Regions from separate parts of the Homo sapiens genome. Here region 1 is linked to region 2. The links are contacts of gene promoters, found by promoter capture Hi-C in blood cells and fetal thymus (Javierre and others, 2016). All regions are on one chromosome and are shown on one strand. Each heading gives the region's core, a stretch centred on a gene start or on the middle of the fragment in contact. The rest is flanking DNA. Distances are from core to core; before and after follow the strand shown.

The links. Contacts are between HindIII fragments. The CHiCAGO score rates a contact against its expected background, and 5 or more counts as called.
Region 1: a contact is called between a fragment that was not itself captured here and the fragment with the promoter of FBXO3 in region 2, in 2 of 17 cell types (fetal thymus and total CD8 T cells). The highest score is 6.2, in fetal thymus.

The regions. Positions count from the first base shown.
Region 1 is chr11:34,442,852-34,448,304 of GRCh38, forward strand. All of the region lies in intron 1 of CAT (catalase), which reads left to right. Among named protein-coding and RNA genes, the nearest start is that of CAT, 6.6 kb to the left of the region's middle. The HindIII fragment of the contact is 272 bases long and covers 3,369-3,640 here.
Region 2 is chr11:33,772,756-33,778,599 of GRCh38, forward strand. FBXO3 (F-box protein 3) reads right to left here and starts at 1,765. Exons shown (of 11, transcript NM_012175.4): 1 at 1,639-1,765. The coding sequence starts at 1,742. FBXO3-DT (FBXO3 divergent transcript) reads left to right here and starts at 1,944. Exons shown (of 3, transcript NR_120550.1): 1 at 1,944-1,996; 2 at 2,499-2,608; 3 at 2,693-2,915. RefSeq lists an enhancer at 779-1,279 and silencers at 1,228-1,297, 1,758-1,857. The HindIII fragment of the contact is 5,455 bases long and covers 1-2,909 here.

The DNA.
Region 1 (5,453 bases), core at 2,255-4,754, 670 kb after region 2:
GCTAGAACTCTGTTACAGGCCACACCTGGGGTAGTCTACCCCCTGTCCAGGAAGCTGACTCTACTATATTATCCAAAGCGTACATTTCATATTTGGTGAAAATCTGTCCAGCCATTTTCTTGTGATGCGGCAATGGACATGCAACATAATTTCTTTTTAAAGAATATGTCATTTTTACTTTCTGACATTAAGATATTCTGTTAGAAAATTATGACAGTAACAGATGGTATTAAAAAAAAATCTCCCCTTGCTTGGTAAATGCTTTTATCTAAGTGGGCAGCTTTGTGCTAATATGATGTCTTCCACTTCCCAATTAGTTGTGATGCTTTACTGATCTAGGAGAGCTTTATGGTTTGGGACTACTATAGGCGAACACTCTGTTGCCTCCTCTCTCAAGAATCAGAGTGTCCTATTTTGGAAACACAGTCAACCATGTGAAAGCAATTTATTGGGCGTATCTTCTGTGGTCAGATTTGGTTTGCTGACAGGTGAATTGGGAGTTTTGTAAACTTTAATAAGTGAGCATTGAGTCAGATGTGTTCATGAGTATGACCTCGATCCACTTAAAAATTCTTATTTCTTTTTCTCTCTTGGCAGGAGGGAGGTGGTTGTGCAGGTATTCCCAGCCACTTTGAAGGGAACTTAAATGGGAACTTTATTGCTCACTGCTTAGAATGCCATGGGCTCTTCTTTTGAGATACTTACCTTTAACCCATTTCCTTTTTTTTTTTTTAAGTGCAGCTTGCTGCCAGTGCTCTTTTCTTGGGGGTAAATGGGAAATGTTAATAAGTAGCCTCTGATCCCTTTAAAATGGGAGAATTTGAACATTTCAAACCTTACCTTTTTATACAGTTCTCTTATTACCTGGGAGAGAGGTTAAGTCTTAGACTATCCATTTCTGTCAGTGAGTTGCCTATGCATTATAGCCTGTGAGGGTCTATATTTTTTTAGGGTAATCCTGGTAATAACTGCATTGATGTTACACTGCTAACATTTGGGATGGAGAAGGGGTGACTGAGTGACTTAACCCTTGGTCCACATGTGCTTTCATTTCTCCTGAAATATACCTAGGTATGGAATCGCTAAGTCATTATGTGCAGTGGGAGAGACTATGGGAGATGGGACAGAAATTTTTAAGGTTTCATTTCTTTTTTTTAGCTTTTGCATGGTGGGTAGGTCTATGCAAACCTACCCCCAAAGTCTGAGGAAGCTGAGAGGCCAAAGAAAGAGGCTGACAAATCAAGTTTCTCAGAAAGAAATGTTTAGTAGGGACTTAGGACCAGAAACCATGTCTGTGTCTTGCGTGTTGGCGAGACAAGATGGTGGATCCCATACCATTACCCCTCAGACCCAGGGCTTAATACCATAGGGAAGGGCGATTCAGAAGGGAGGTATGGCATGACTGAAGTATGATAATGTCAAGGTTGTTTGACCTCAGGGCAGGATTTATAGTAAATAGGGGCTCTTTCACAAGGAATAATAGATAAACTGGAAATCTTAAAACTGGAGTTAATCAGAAGTCAGCATGGTGGATCAGTATCTAAGACGGAATTGCTTTAGCTTCCACAGCAGTCAATATCTAGACCACCCTTATTATTTTCCCACAGACCAAGAAATTTGAAGGTCAGGACAGTCTTTGGTTTCCTGTACGTGGGTGTATACGTTGTAGGCACTTGAATCTTTGTTGAATAAATGGAGAATGTTAGGCAGTTATTTGCTAGAAAACGCTAGGCACATTCTTTATCACAGAATGAAAAGACGTCATTATGACTCCTCTGGGACTGATGGGCAATTTGCATTAACCAATCTTTTAATTAAAAGTGGAAGAATATGTTTAGGTTCTTGAAACTTCTGTGAGTGAAGGGAACTACTAAGTGGAAAGTGTAATATGTTGATAAAATATTTCACCAGATGAAGCCAACCTTACTCCTCCCAGGAAAACTTCTTCATTTATGTATTAGCTCTGGCCAAAAGAAGCCTATAAAGGCAGCAAAGTCAAAATAGAATTTTACTTTAAGTCCCTACTTCTAATAATTGTGCTAGTTTTTAGCCAAGCTAATTTCTGTGGCAGTTTTCATAACAAGTGTGTCTAAAGGTGTTTGATCAGAATTTATAAATTAAAATATTTCTCTCATTTTTTGGAGGGGCGATGCAGGGAGAGGGATAGACTGTTGCTGCTTCCTCCTGCTTGTTAGAAAGGCTCTTGGCCATATCATATTGGTCCGTGGTTTAGTTTATTTGCATGCTGAATCCACACACATTTGTTTTATGTTTGTTAGTATATTGAGCAGTGTATTAGGGATCAGGTATATAGATGTAAAAGGAGTACACAGTCTAGAGAGGAAAAATAGTGACAGGCTGGGCGCGGTGGCTCACGCCTATAATCCCAGCACTTTGGGAGGCCAAGATGGGCGGATTTCTTGAGGTCAGGAGTTTGAGATCATCAGCCTGGCCAACATGATGGAACCCTGTCTTTACTAAAAATACAAAAATTAGCTGGGTGTGGTGGTGGTCGCCTGTAATCCCAACTACTTGGGAGGCTGAGACGGGAGAATTGCTTGAACCCGGGAGGAGGTGGAGGTTACAGTGAGCTGAGACCATGCCACTGCACTCCAGCCTGGGCAATAGAGCGAGACTCCATCTCAAAAAAAAAAAAAAAAAAAAAAAAAAAGAAAAACAGTGACATAAACAGGCAATTACAATATTTTGTTATATGGGGCACAAGAAGATGCCCTTGGCCCTGCTTCATGAGTGGTGTGGGGCAGGGTAGAGAGAGCAGTTCAGGAGAGGTACGTATGGATGTCATGGGAGCTAGCAGCCAGGAAGATGTAAACATGTTAACAAGGACCTCTCCAGAGAGAGGTCTTAAAATTATCCAGCCATAGAGAAGCTTTTCTCTCTTTAAAAATATTCTGGCTCTAAAGTTATTCATTGAGTTAAAAACAATAATTGCAAGTTGGAGGAAATCTCTTTGCCTGTCCTTACGTGTTACATGTAACAAGTAAACCTGTGCCACAACACTGACATCTCTGCAAAGTTACTTAAGTTTTCTGAGTTTGTAGTATCGCCCATTAAATGGGATTAATAATATTGATCTCTGGATTATTGACAGGCTTAAGTGAGATAACTTGCGTGGTCCGTTTTCTAGCCCCACCCTCTCATTTCATCTAGTAAATCTTCATTGCATTAATTATTTTCATCTTAAATACACCGCATCCTGCTCCTCACCTTCTAATATTAATACTCTATCTTTCAGTTTAGATCAGTTCCTCTTATCCAATGTTGCGCTAAACATCCCCTGAAGTTGGGGGATCTTTTCCTTTCTAGTTTTTGCTCCCTGGCTTCCCTTTTCTGTTGCTGACTGTTGAAGCTTTCCTGCCCCACTGGCTTTGAAGGTAAATTGTATATACATGAGCTTGTGGGGAAAGCTGTTATATAAATGAGGACAATTGATCTAACTGTTAGAGTGGGGAAATGGAAGAGATTCTGAAGCCTCCATTTGTAACTTAAAAACTCAGGTTTCATTTCTTAACAGGATTGATGTTAAGGAGGGGATTCCTTCATTGGGCAGGAGGGAGGACTGCCATAATTCCAGCATTCCCACTCTTAATAGTCAGTGTCATCAGGAAAGACCACCTCAAGCTTTAGTACTTTATTCATTTATCCAACTCTGCACCTGCTGCCTTTGGGTGTGGTATTTATTCTTGACCATATCACCCTGACCCGGTAACCAGAAGGGAACATGTGATGTGCTCTCATCTCTGCCTTAGGGGCAGCTCCCTCCCCACGTTAAGAATGCTGGCATGTAAATAACACTCTCATCTGTTTAGCGTTCCTTTTACTGAGCTTCTTGGTATCTTTTCTCATACTTGTACCTTTTATGGGATGTCCCCCCCTTTTTTTTTTTGAGACGGAGTTTCGCTGCTGTTGCCCAGGCTGGAGTGCAATGGCACGATCTCAGCTCACCGCAACCTCCGCCTGCTGGGTTCAAGCGATTCTCCTGCCTCAGCCTCCCGAGTAGCTGGGACTACAGTCACCCCTCCACTGCACCTGGTACTAATTTTGTATTTTTAGTAGAGACAGGGTTTCTCCATGTTGGTCAGGCTGGTCTCGAACTCCTGATCTCAGGTGATCCACCTGCTGCAGCCTCCCGAAGTGTTGGGATTACAGGTGTGAGCCACCGCGCCCAGCCTGGATGTCCCTTTATTTTTTAAAGGCTTCCTTAAATACCTTGTTTGTAAGTTGAAAAGAGCATTTAAAGAGTGAACAGATTTGGTTTGCTCTGGCTCTCTAATTATTTTAACTTTGTTATCACCCAATAGTTCTAGGTTAGTGGTTTTCAATCCTAGCTTGAACAGGAGTCATTTAAAAATAGCCCAGGCCTCACCCAGGGCACTTCTATCAGACATCTCTAGGGGGGATGGCCCAGGCATCAGGAGGCTTTAAAAAGCTCCTCAGGTGATTTTAGTGCATTGCCAAGGTTGAAAACCAAGGCTTTAGGTTTAAACTAAAGGTGAAATTGCTCTTTTTCTGGTTCATTTTCTACTTTAGAAAGTAGAAATTTTTTTTCTGGTTCATTTTCTACTTTAAATTAAAAATAAACCTACAGAGGGTAACACGTATTAGCACGTCACAGAGGGTCACACGTATTAGCAACATATGTATCTTCAAAAGAGTGATGTGACTGGGTGGTAAGTGTTGATTGGACCCTTAAACTGTGACAGTTTAGAAGGGGCTTTGCTAGATGGGTTTAGGGACAGAGATGGTAGAGTGAGAGAGTGTGGATGGAGGAGTATGCATCTGTCATGATTACTAGAAAAATAAAACTTCAAATGCTTTGCTCCTTCTGCTGCGAGGTCATGTTCTCACAGCCAGTGAAGTGACAGCATATATGTGTTGAATGTGTGGCTTGCATTTTACATTTAACTCTTTTAATTCATGTGTTAACCTTAGGAGGTACTTATTATTCTATTTTGCAGATGAAAATGGAGACTCATAAATAAGTAACTTACCAGCAGCTACATAGCTGGTAATTGGTAGAACTGGAAGTTGGACCCAGGCTCTAGTGCTGGCACTCATAGTTTCTCCCTGCTGCCATGTTGGCCTCTTCCTACTTGGATGAAGATATAACTCTAGTGGCAAGGGCATTTACTAGTGTGTGAGAGGGTCTTGTTTATTAGTTTTGCAAATTGCACGGTCTCCTTTATTCAATATCTTTTTTCAAACAGCTCACAGATCTTTTGTGGTTTTGTAAGTGCCTACTCCCCACCGTATTGCCTTCTAGAGAAGAGGCAGGAATTTATTTTAATGTACAGGACAGACATGCATGGGGAGTAAAACTACAGACTCCACTCTAGGTGTGTGGAAATACTAAAAATAGTGCTTTTCTCTGTGTGTGAAGTTGGTCTGTTGAGTTTTGTCATAGACAGCGTTGAGTTCCTCTCCCAGGTGGA
Region 2 (5,844 bases), core at 515-3,014:
TTCACTACTGTACCCTCAACACTTAACAGACTGGCACATAGCAAGCCCTCGGGGAAAAAAAAATCTTTGAATAGGAAGATAAGCAAGGCAGCCCTTACAATCAAGAAGCACGCCATCTACCTGACATGGCAAATCAATTCTGCAGGAAGAAGGTAGAGAGGGCATCTTCTCCACCTTGCCAAGTTGAGAAGAGGTAGGCAAGGCATTCCAGGCAAGGTCGAGAGCTTGAGCCACAGGAAAAAAAAAAAAAAAGAAAGTGCAAGTGTGTTGTATGCTGGCAGAGGTCTGATTTGGTTAGAATGGATGGTGCAAATGTGATAGTGGTGGAGAAATAAGTCCTGGAGGACCTTAGATATACAAGCCAGATGATAAGAGCTTTCAATGCCCCAGAAGTTTAGGTTATAGTCTATAAACATAGGGGTGTCACAGGTTTTAAGGAGAATGACAACCAGATGTGTCTTGGAAAGATTACTCTGGCAGCAATCAAAAGTTGGAGACTGTTAGTTAAATTGTAAGTATTTTCTAGAAAAATAAAATTGCTAGCAGGTACAGGTAGCGACCAGTACAGGTAGTGACCAAAAACTTGAGGTATCTCTCTATCACCACTTAGCTAGGCCAACAACTATCTGTAGCTCCAAGAAATCTGTATTTATAAAAAGACCTCTAATAACACAGGGCACAATCATCAAATGGCTAGAATCTAATGGTTAATCCAAACACAAAACAAATCTCGCCCACCTATCCTAAGAGGGCGACTTTGCATCCTCTGCAAATATATACGGTAGCACAGGAAACTCACAGCCATGCCACCCCCTGTCAAGGGTGTAAACAATCCTGACAGCTGGGGGGCGGGCTGGCAGCGCCATTTCTTCCACCACCCCAGACAGTCCCAAGTTCTGAAGAAACTGGGCATTGAACCACCCTTATCAGCAACCGGTGTTTATTTCTGGAACAGATGCTAGTAATGTGGGAAACCCAAGGTGTCCAGGAGAAAAGATAGTCACCGGTATGGCATCACCGGAAGTCAGTACCAAAACATAAAATCCAACATCGAACCGTAAGGAGCAATGCTGACAGCAAAACAATTCTCACGCACTGAAGTCCGAAAGTGAGCCCGGACAGCGATTCTGGCGCTGGGGAAGTCGCGCCAGGGGAGTAAGGGGTTGCCTATCTTCTCCTCTCGCTCACCCACCTGCCCACCCCGGCGCCAGACTCCGCAGGCCCCGGACCCAGCAGAGAAGAGCGCCTGGCCGGGACAGGGGCTTTTACACAGCAGCAGGGACTGACCCCAACCGGGCGGGCACCTGCGGGGCCAGCGGGGGTCCGCGGAGCGCGGCGGTGCGGCACGAGGGCCACTACCTCCTTCTCTTGCAAGTGGGCCTCACCGAGGCCTGGGAGAGAGATATCTCGTCGCTTCTCATACCTGGGCCCAGGACAGGAGGAAGACTCAGGGCGAGGCCCTTTCCGCCCCCGTCTCGCCCCGGTCCCCGGTGGCTCCGCAGGATGAGGGCGGCCCTGGCGTCACCTTCTGGTGTCGCGGAAGCTCGGGTCCTGTCAGCGGCCCCGACCCCCTTTCCCCCTGCCTCACCGCCTCCTCTCCCCATGCCCCCACCCCTGCCATGCGTGTCGTCCCATTACTTGATTAGATCCCGATAGTCCAAAAAGGATAAGATGAGGAGCAGGGGATCGGTGGGCAGCGACTCTAGGGTCAGCGGCGCCGTCTCGGTCTCCATGGCCGCCATCTTGCCTGGCCCGGTGCAGGTCTGGCCCCGCCCTGGCCCCGCCCCTGCCCCGCCCCCACCAGCGCCCGAACCGCCCCCAGCCGCTCTCACAGGTTTGTTATGTAACCGCCGGGCCAGCCCCGCCCTCAGGGTGGGCTGAGGTGCGGCTCCCTGGAGACCCCGCCCGCTAGCCGGGAGCCAGCGGCGCAGTGCGAGTTCAGCCCGCTTTCTTCGCGCTCCGCGTCAAATCTCTCCAGCTCTGTTCTCGCATCCCGGTTCGTAAACTTGCCCAGCCCGGGACCCTTTTGTTGCCAAATCTGCCTCGGTCTGCCCAACTCCTCCTGCGAAATTTTACACTCAGTATGCAGGAAGCCTCGCTCAAAATCTGACACTCCTCCACGCCCTTGGTCCCCAAATCCATTCCTTCTCTTTGTTTTCCAACCCGAGAACCCCTCGTTTTCCCCGCTCAGCCTTCCCCACCCCGCTTGTCCCCCGCACACAGCAGGGCCGCTCCGAGACTTGTCCACTCAGCAAGAGCAGAGCTGAGAATCAGCCAGGGACGCCAGCTGAAGGCCCTTCTCCCAAATTAAGGAAATAATTGTTGAGGGCTTAACTTCACGCCCCTCCCCGCCTTCCTAAGTAAAATGTGTACAAGGAGTGAGTCTGAGTCTCAGCCGCTGTCCCTTAATTTGGTTATCATGGCTATTTTCAGCCTATTAGGGCAATGCAAAGGGTACAGTGTGGATTTTTTCCAGCTTTAAAATTTATTTTGGCCAGGGTTTAGATCCCGCAGAGTTAAGTATCCCGCGTGTGAAGGGATGAACTGAGACTCCCAGAGGGCATAACTGATGGAGGCACGAAGATGTCTGCTCTTCAGCTTTGCCAAGGTGATATTAAAATGAGAGTGGGGGAAGTATAATGGGTCCATACATCACTTGCCTGATTTCTTCTTTTCCATTGCTTTTCCAAAGGTAGTATGGTGTAAGGGGCTTTGGGGAATCCAGACAGACCTGGACTTCACACGCCCGTCATTTATTTCACTACTAGTGAAATGCTGGCGTAGTTACGCCTAAGTTCTCTGAGACTGTCCCTCATCTCTAAAACCACCCCTCCTCTGGTGAACTAAGGATGGCGATAACGCTTTATGTAAAGTGCCTGGCCAGATACTCAATAAATGTTAATTTTCCAAGCTTATACATGCATCAGTCACTAAGTTCTCCAAACATTTCCATATCCTGGAGAAAGTTTCTCTCAATTATTTGGAAGAGTGGAAGTGATATGCCCCGCCCCAAAAAAATCCATTTCCTCCATTCTTCATACCATTAATGCCTTCTATTTATGGTTTTGCTTAATAGTTATAACCCCTGCCACCCAGCCAACAAAACAGAACAACAGCAACAAAAAACTCTGCCTACATCTCTGTGCTTCCAAATTGTTTATGCATATGCTTAGAAGAACATTTATTGAATTGGATTTCAAGTACTTGTTCTGTGTCTCTCTCGTCAAACTGTAAACTCTCAGTCTGACTCATCTTTCTAATTTCAGGGCTTAGCAAGTTATTCAACAACTAGAAAGTTTAAATTCAGGTTGAATGGATGAATGAAGACAGAATAATCATTTCTGTTTACAAGGGAACCATACCTTTTTACATAGACAAATGCTTGTAAAGGTATTTGATCCTGATTTATGTTTGTCTCCATTTTCTACTTCAGATGGGCCACCTGTTTTAAATCCAAAAGCTGGTAGGAGTTTCAGGTACACTGCATTTGCTTCTGCTGTCCTATTGCACTTGGACTTGGTGCAGCTATGACCTAATGCAGAAGACAAAGTATGAAGCTACCAAACTGTCAGGGCCAGAACTAAGGTGAGGCAAGAAAGCTACTTGCTTGGGGCACAAATTTAAGAAGAGGTGCCAAAAAACTGAATAATCAAATAAATAACATTTTAATGCAATATTTTTAAAAATAAAAATTAATGCAAAAAAAATTCACAGTGAACAAAATACCAAACTCTTAAACAAAAACAGGATCCCACAGTGCCATGTAAGCCATATTAGAGCCTGATGCAAAAAGAAAAAACAATGCGCAGCACTAAATACATGCTTTTTATGGTTTTGTTAGTTTGTTTTTTGAAACGGGGTTTCTCTGCTGTTGCCCAGGCTGGAGTGCAGTGACATGCTTTCGGCTCACTACAACTTCTGCCTCCTGGGCTCAAGCCAATTTCCTACCTCAGCCTCCTGAGTAGCTGAGACTATAGCTACACCACAACACCCAGCTAATTTTTGTATTTTTAGTAGAGACAGGGTTTCACCATGTTGGTCAGGCTGGTCTTGAACTCCTGACCTCAAGTGACCCACCTGCCTCAGCCTCCCAAAGTGCTGGGATTATAGGCATGAGCCACCGCGTCTGGCCAGGTGGAAGACTTGCTTCTCCCATGTGGCTGGGCTTACAGCTTCTGCCATGCGCTCTCAGCACCTCTTTTCCAGGCTGCTAAGCCCTGCCACTTCCTACCTTGCAAAGTGCCATCAGGTTGCCATCCCCTGCTGCACTAGCCCAGGCCCCTCTGGAGAGGTGGCTTTGGCTCAGGCTCCACTTTTCTCCCCAGCATGGTATGAGGCATGTGGTAGAGGTTGGGGGAGCAATGCAGGTAGGCAGGACCCAGGAGAGCCCTTTCCTGGGCTGGGGCTTCCTATTGCCCTTCCCCCACCCCCTGCCACCCTGCCCCCAATACTGGCTGGAAAAGGGGTAGGTAGGAAGAGAGAGTCCAGAATTTGGCTATTCACATCCCCAGGGCTAAGCTTGGGTGGAAGAAACAGTCCCTCCAAGTTTGCTCATTGTTTTGGAAGCTGGTTTCTAAAGAGTTTCACTAAAATAGTATTTGCTTATCATTTTAATTTCTATGGTAGATCAGAAAGCAGAAGGTTTTAAGGCCAGGCGTGATAGCTCACGCCTGTAATCCCAACACCTTGGGAGGCCAAGGTAGGCAGATTGCTTGAGTCCAGGAGTTCCAGACCACACTGGAGAGACCCTGTGTCTGCAAAAAAAAAAAAAAAAAAAAAGCCAGGCATGGTGGTGCATGCCTATAGTCCCAGCTACTCAGGAGGCTGAGGTGGGAGGATAGCTTGAGCCTAGGAGGTCGAGGCCGCAGTGAACCGTGATCGTGCCACTGAACTCCAGCCTGGGCGACATAATGAGACCCTGTCTCTAAATAAATAAATAAATGTTTTTTAAAAAGAAATCAGAAGGTTCTAACAGAAGGGTTCAGATGTAGAATTTTTTTTTTAAAAAAAAGGTTTCTCCTTTTCTCAGGAGTAGAGAGGGACAATGCTTGAGAAATACACAGTCTTACGTGTTTCCTTTAGAACCCCAGTGGCATCTTATTTATGATGAGTAGCTCCTAGCAACAACACCCTACCTCTTGGTAATCAATCGTAGTTTCATCGGCTTTGAGGTTCCCACTGGCTGTTTAGGTAAATCCTTCAGACATTAACTCCTATCAAGTACAAGCATCCGGGCTCAGGACTGTGAGAGATCAAGCTGAACACAGTGCCATACCTGCCCTTGAGAAAGTGACAGACACTCCCTAACGGTTTGGTTGGGGAGAGGCAAATTCAAATGGCCCTGGAGACTCATTTTCTCACCTGTTTTCATGGTTTAGCAACTCGCTGCCTCAGCAGATCTGAGTTAGCTTGGAGGCAAAACAGGATGCTCTAGAAGTTCCTACTAAATGGCAGCCTAGAGGTGCCCCGAATCCCCGGCTTCCACCTCAGCATTTGTAAAACAGAGTTTAAGATCCTTCTGTATCGAACTCTGCGAGATGAACCCAGCCTAGGCACATTTCTCAGCGGGACAGGGAAGCTGGGGGCTGGGATGGATGGTGGGATGGGGAAATGGGGTTGCTTACATGCTCCTCCTTCTCTGCTTGTATCCCCCTCCCCCACCCAAGTTGTATTTATACCACATGGCATTGGTAGTGTGTGTCTGTGGCCCCTGAAAGGCAGTCGCACGCATGAAGGTTAAACTCCACTTTGCCTCGGTGCTAAGTGTTTTTGGAACTGCCCATTGTCCAACTGGGCCTTCCCAGGGACAAAAGCATTCTCTCCCAGGGGGCCCTGTCACCCAAG